Linked DNA regions of Homo sapiens: region 2 is linked to region 1. Evidence: promoter capture Hi-C in 16 types of primary human blood cells and fetal thymus (Javierre and others, 2016). All regions are on one chromosome and are shown on one strand. The core of a region is centred on a gene start or on the middle of the fragment in contact, and the rest is flanking DNA. Distances in the headings are between cores, read along the strand shown.

The links. Contacts are between HindIII fragments. The CHiCAGO score rates a contact against its expected background, and 5 or more counts as called.
Region 2: a contact is called between a fragment that was not itself captured here and the fragment with the promoter of TMC3 in region 1, in 1 of 17 cell types (total B cells). The highest score is 5.9, in total B cells.

Annotation. Positions count from the first base shown.
Region 1 is chr15:81,372,183-81,375,766 of GRCh38, forward strand. It overlaps TMC3 (transmembrane channel like 3), which reads right to left and starts at 2,031. Exons shown (of 22, transcript NM_001080532.3): 1 at 1,807-2,031; 2 at 409-555. The coding sequence starts at 1,895. All of the region lies in intron 5 of TMC3-AS1 (TMC3 antisense RNA 1), which reads left to right. The HindIII fragment of the contact is 5,020 bases long and covers 1,573-3,584 here.
Region 2 is chr15:81,151,945-81,155,528 of GRCh38, forward strand. No RefSeq gene overlaps it. Among named protein-coding and RNA genes, the nearest start is that of CFAP161, 19 kb to the left of the region's middle. The HindIII fragment of the contact is 5,994 bases long and covers 1-3,584 here.

The DNA.
Region 1 (3,584 bases), core at 781-3,280:
ATTGGCTTACTGCTCTGTTTCTAGTGAGCGAGACGAGCTTGGAGAGAATATTAAAATCTAGTGTTTAGAAAGGAGGTAGAAGATAAAAGACTCTCCACCAACACACACACCCCCAACACAGACACACAACTCTTTATACTCTCTCTTTCTCTGTATCTGTCTCTCTGACACACACACACACACACACACACACACACACACACACACACACACACACACACACACAGAGGAACTGGCTTCTGGACCAGCTAGACCTCTCAGATATCTTTGTGACTTTGCTAATTCAGGTCAAGAGTGACTGAGCCATCTCTCTCACATGAGTCTTTATCCTCGTTCCCATGGGCAAGGCAAGGTGGTTTATCGGAAAGCATGCTTGTAATGATCAATAATGGCCATTGAGGCCCTTACCTCAATGCCCTCAGCTTCTGTCCCATAGTCCAGGGTCTGCAGCGAATGTTTGCCATGAGATCTTTCTGGAACTGTATATTCTGGAAGATTTGTTCCGGATCATTGCTGTCCCCTGTTTCATCAGCACTAAAGCTGTCATCCAAGTTGCTGAATGATCAGGGCATTAAGGAGGAAATCTGATTAGAAGAATTGCTTCCAGCAAAGATCATCTTGCCCTGGGCACAAGTTCAGCATCTCACTGCCCTAGGGTCATCTGTATGAAATGTGTATGTGTTTGTGCGTGTGTGTGTGTGTGTGTGTGTGTGTGTAAAGTGAGGGACCCACAGAAACAGATAATTTGCCAGTGTCAGTAGCCTGTTGAAACACATTTATTGGATTCAATTACTTCCACTGGGTCATTAGAAGATAATGATTTCTCAGGGTGCATGATATTATCAGAAAACACAAGATGAGACAAGAGGGTATTTACGTACTCTTGGATTCCTGAGTAGCAGCAATTTGGGTAGGCAAAATAATTTCTTTTTCAGGCTCATTGAAATAATCAGCTAATTTTAGAGGCAGGACTCCTTATGTTACTTGAAGGTAACATAAATCAAAACTTCTGCCACTCAGAAACCCCTCTTCACCCTTTCACGTCAATTCATTTTAAGCCTGAGATAACCGAGGCAGAGCCAGGCAAAGCAATTTCTACGAGCGAAAGATTAGCTAAGCAAATTTACATGGGTGAGATATTTCAGGAAATAGATACTCTCAAGAGGAACAATTTTCCAACATGTAGCAACATTTACTCCCAGTTACACTTAATATGCTTATCCTAATGCAACATTTTGAGAGGAGTTAAGAGTATTCATCTATGACTATTAGAAATAAAAGATTTCGTTTGTTATTCTCTAATTCATGTTGTTTTTACTCATTTAGAGGAGAATTTTTTTCAATTTCACCAAATTAAATGGCAGCTGTACTAGACCTTTATAAATATTTAACAAATTCGAATAGCACTCTCATCCACTTCTAACTAGCCTGAAGGCTTTTCCAATAAACACTTTATTTATCATGATAGACATATTATCTGCTCTCTCTTGACATTGCTGATTGAGTGAACATAGAGAAAACAGGGAAACATATCTGTGGGTTTGGCCAGCCATAAAGCCAGGTTGGGATGCAAGCTTTTGGATTCTGACCTCCTGGTCAAGAAGCAGCCAGAAGAACCATTTCCCCCCATGCCCGTTGCTGAGGTTGCCATCCTAGTTGTACCACAACCTGGAGAAGTGAGTTTCTGAGTTCATTCTGAAGGACAACTGAGCAGGACAGGGACTTTGTCCCTCGCTCTGGTGACCCATGCATTCCTTCCTCACACACCTGACTCCTCTGCCCAGCTGATGAATGGGGCCAGCTCACCTGAGCAGCAGAGATTCCTGGTAGAGGTAGCACTGGCTGGCATTTCTCCGGATGCCTCTATAGCGCTGGGATGCCTTCGAGGTTTTCATGGGAGCTAACCCACTGCTAACAATCAGAAGCTGGCCAGAGAGCTAGGAAGTTGGCAGGCAAAGGTCTGTTCCGAGGTTTCTGAATGGAAGCAGCGGAGTTTGCTCTGCCCGCTAGTTCTCAGGAAGAAGACTGTGTGCTTGCAGCTGGTGCTCTGAGCAGGGAAGAATCCAGGAGGCCAGTCATGCATATGTAATGTTAAGGTGGCTGAGGCACACAGATTGGCTGGAGTCTAGACAGCCAAGGGTTTGGCCCGGTGATCTACACATCGCTTGGTGCTGTACAAATGATCACATCCGTTAACCCCTTATGCCCTGACAGTCCTGGATGGTTTGCAAAACACTTTACATCTGTGACCATGACTGGTGTTCACAAAACACTGAGGGAGTATAAAAGGCAAGGCTTAATTTCCCCAGTTTTTTACTCTCAACGAAGAGGCTTAGAGACAGTAAGGACCTTGCTTGTGTTCATACAGTGGAGTTGAGGAGAGGCACAGCCATCACATTTTATTTTTTCTTATTTAGTTTTTTCTCAACTTAGTTTCTATTTTGAAAAAAGTCAAATCCTTAGAAATGCTGATGGAACAGTACCAGGAATATCTGTACACTCTTAACCTAGATTTACCAATTGCCACATTTTGCCACAATTGCTTTATTTCTGTCTGTATCCTTCCCCCACCACACACCATTTGAAAGTAGATTGCAGAAATAATGATACATCAACCCCAAGTACTTCAGCATGATATTAATAATAATCAAATTAACATCTTATTACATTTTACCTTTACCATACATGGTCACATTAATGAGCACTATGACTCTGAGACTGAGGCTAAAAGAAATAAAGAGACTTCCTATAGCATTTGGTAAGAAAGGAAGACTTTGATAGAGATTAGACTCTCACCTCAATGTTCTGAAAATAGGTTGCCTGCTGTAAAATGGGATGAGTAGTTCATCCTAGTCCTTCAGCAAAGGTCAGCAGCTTCTCCTCCCCTTCCCCAGCCATCAGCAGAATGGAGCCCGGTTCCTTTGTCACCTGCAGACTCTCACTGTTAGCCATGCATTGGGATTCTGTTCCAAGAACCTCATTCCCAAGTCCAAGACTTGCCTGGTTTCACAGTGTAAACCTCTATTTGCTACTTAACACAAGAAATGGTTTGACTGCAGTGAGGTAAATTGCACCTTTGTAGTAACAGAATGGGAAGGTGCAGGACTGGAGTAGACATGACTCTTTCTATTGAACATTACCCACTGCACACTAAAGACTCAATAAATGGGTGAATAAATAACTGAAGTGGACACCAGACAACGGAGCAGAAAGAAAATCCATCAGCAAGTTCAGATGTGGGGCTTCGGAGAGAAACTTCATTCATTTGTCCATTCAATCCTCCACTAATTCATTAGCAAATAATTGGAAAGATCTTACCACACACTGAACTGGCAAATGTAAGCAAGAGCCCTAGCCCAGGGGTTCAGGACCATCAGGCAAGTGTTCAGACCTAGCGCTGAAAGCATGGGAACGAAGTGGAAGGCTGAGTGCCAGAGCTGGCCTTGGGTCAGAGATGGATCCGGAGCCTCTGGGACCAGGTCATCTGTCTGCCAATTTGCTTGAGGCCATTTGGCCTGATGCTCTATCTGGTAACATTAGATAAAATGTGTGCTTATCAAATGGACAAATGGCTTATACAATAG
Region 2 (3,584 bases), core at 605-3,104, 220 kb before region 1:
TAACTTTTACAGAGGAGCCAGGCTTAGAGATTTGTTCAGGGACACAGCTCCTAAACAGCAGAGCTGGGGCAGGACCAAGTCAGATTCTTCTATCCCTTCTTCTGGACAAGGGCCTTCTAATCTAATTTTTTTTCTAATTCTTTGTTGTGGTTGCTTTCCTGTGCATTATAAGATGTTTGCCAGCATCCCTGGCCTCTGCTCACTAGATGAAGTAGCACCCCTCCACTCATGACAACACAAAGCGTCTCTAAACATTGCTAAATGTCCCTGGGAGGGGTCTGCTATTTAAGGACCAATAGTCTAGACCTACTTCTAGCTGTTTTTTATTTGCCATTTATAAAGGATGCTGTAAAATGGGTATTTATCTCTCTCTCTCTCTCTCTCTCCTTCCTTTTCTTTCTTTCCTTTTTTTGTGTCCTATAGAGATTAGAATATGTGGTCTCTAACATGACTTCCAGATATATTAATAATCTGCTTTTAGCATCTGAGCTGGACTTTGATGGAAACTTAGAATATTGGCAGGGGGAGACTGGCTCTCCAGGATGCAGCCGCTGTATGGACCTGTGTACAGTGACTTTGGCACACAGCACCTCTGCAGCGACCTCCAGTGTGGGGCACAGAGATGCTCATTGAGATGTGAAAAGAAGAGTTTAGAACTCTGCGTATATCATTATTTTATCCTTTAAAGTGCATTAATGTGTGTGTGCTTTATACGATCCAAAATAGTTTTTATTTTTTACCTTTAAAAAAGTTTATCTTTTTATTTTTACACTTCATTGTGTAAAATTGACAAAATATTAGTTTTTTTTCTTTTTTTGAGACAAAATGTTTTTAAATGTACATGACATTTTAGCTTAATGGGCATGAGTAAAATTTATTAATAGAATTACATATAAATGTATGTGTGTAGCAAATACCCAAAAGGATTGCTTATTGGGAAGGGTGCACAATCACAAATTGTGGAGAGCATCCTGCGTGCTGTGTGCAGTCATTCATTATACAGAAAATGCCACTGAGTCACTTGCTGCAACGATGCCTGCACAGCTTTGTCCTGAGTCATGGACAATGGGCTCCTCCCAGCTCTAAGGTTCACTTTCTTTCAATTGAACAAATGTTTATGAATTGTTTGACAGTAAGGAACAAGGTAAGGACTCTGCAAATGCAAGAGAGAGGGAAGAGGAGACCATCTGTGTGATTACGCACAGGCCATGCTGAAATCCCAGTAGAAGGACCGCATTACTTATACCTGGAGTCCAGGGAAGCCTGCCTTCAGATGACACTTGAGCTGGAAAGGACACACATGGGAAGAGCATTCCAGGCAAAGGAGACTGCGTTTGCAAAGGGCCAACACCTCTCCTGGGGAGAAGTGGGGACTGGCAAGAGACATTCAAAATGGGCTGTGTGCTGGTACACTCAGCATGGCTATACTGGCTGTTAAAATACGATAATGTCTCCAACCTGGTTGGAAAATAGCTACTGACTCAAGCCCCTAAAGTGCCCCCTGTAACCCTGGCACCTCCCTGGAGACCCTTGGATTTCCCTACAACCAGCAACTAAAGGGTTAATGTTCAGCCCAATGGTGGGGCCTGCAAGACCCTACCCCACCATGGTGCCTGGAGTTTGTTTTATTTGGCTAATATCCAGTGATACTCAAGAAAAACTATAGAGGTGGTTAACTATTTTGAATATCACTCTTGGCTTCATGTATCAATTATCGAACTTGAATTTGATCTTGAAGGTGATGGTCAGCCTGTGAAAGGCTTTGAGGAGGAAAGTGTCATGATTTTACTTTAAAAAGATGATTATGGAGGCACGGGAGGAGGAACTGATGCGGCTTTGAACTAAGGCAGTGTCAGGAAGCACTGGGAAAAGGGCATGGGTTAGAGAGAGGCCAGGAAGAGAGAGACAGGACTCTATAGCTTGGTGGGTATAAGGCCAGGAGAGAAGGAGAAGGTGGACACTCAGATTTGGGGCACATGCCTCTCCCTGAGATTCAAACCCAGTAGGAAAAACAGGTGCACAGGAAAGGTGACAAGCAGTCATCTGGGAATGTCTGGTCCCTGAGTGGAGGTTGTTTTGGTGTGGATATAGCTGCAACCCACCTACAGTGCTGTCATCTGCTAGGCTGTTTGTCTCTATCACACTCACCTAAGTCTTGGGTAACTGATAGCAAATACAACTTTGGGATTGAAGAGCACCTTTAGCATCCTGCCAGCGGGAGCAAGGAAGAAACCAACGAGCCCAGTGGCTAGGGTTCTCCATGTCCTAGCTCCAAGAACTTCACCTTTGAGGGCTTCTGAGAGGACTGGATATGTTAGCTACGCAAAAGCAGGTGCCCACGTGTGAAAGGGCCTCTGTTGCTCCCCCTCCACCTTCCTATGAATTTAATATGTGTACATCCCAGTCAGTAAGTGAGTTCATCTTTATCACATTTGGTTCCATACCTGGAGGAGGACTCGACTCCTTTCCCATATACAGTAGACATTTTTGCATTCAACCAGATCCAGCAGACATCATTGACTATTTTATACCAGGTCTTGAGGTAGACACTGGGGATCCAGTGGGGAGTAAATGTGTTCCTACCTTTAAGGCTTCCACTGCAGAGAGGGTCAGAAGGGAGATGAGACATTGAAGGAGGTAGAGGGGTCAGAGTGTGGCAGTCTATATTAATATATGGAGCATTTGGGAGCCACCACATATTTTTGAGCAAGGGAGAGATAGGACAGGAAAGGAAGGTTAGTCTGGGAGTGAGGGGTATGAGGTAATTGAAGGAGGTCATTTGTGAGTCTGAAATTACAGTTGGTGAAAGCCCCCAAAGGCTTAAACCTGAGGAGAACAAAGCTGAAGTCTGATTAATGGGTTTTGGCAGATTTTTTTCCCCAATATCCCTTCAAAGGCAAAAAATAATAGAGACACTGTTTTTTCCATTAGTAAATACACTCAACGTCTCCTTATTTGTCTGTAGCTGTTTCAAAAGAAAATAGCTTTGTTTTTAAGAGCAACTGTGTAGGCCCCGGTGTAGCTCATGCCTGTACTCCTAGTACTTTGGGAATTTGAAATCAGTCTGTGCAACATAGAACCCATCTTTACAAAAAATTAAAAAAAATTAGCCAGGTGTGGCGGCACATGCCTGTAGTCCTAGCTACTTGGGAGGCTGAGGTGGGAGGATCACTTGTGCCCAGAAGTTAGAGGTTACAGTGAGCTATGGTAATGACACTGAACTCCACCTTGGGCAACAGAGCAAGATCCTGTCTCAAAAGAAAAAAAAAAAAAAGAACTACAACTATTTATAAGTATTTCTATATTTGATAATAATTCAATATAAATTCAGTTATCTTGAAGACTTGGCGTAAGGAGAGCCTGGCTAAATTACTGGGTTCAATTCCTATGGGGAGATGATGTCGCAGAGAAGTCAATTGGTTAATATATAAGGAACTCCTACAAATGCAAGATAAAACTGTAAACACCCCATTAGAAAAATAAGGCAAAGGCTTAAACTGGCAACTCTAAAAGAAGTAATTCGAGGATCCAATAAACATTTCAAAACATGTTCAAATGAAGACAGCAATGAGATACCATTTTCC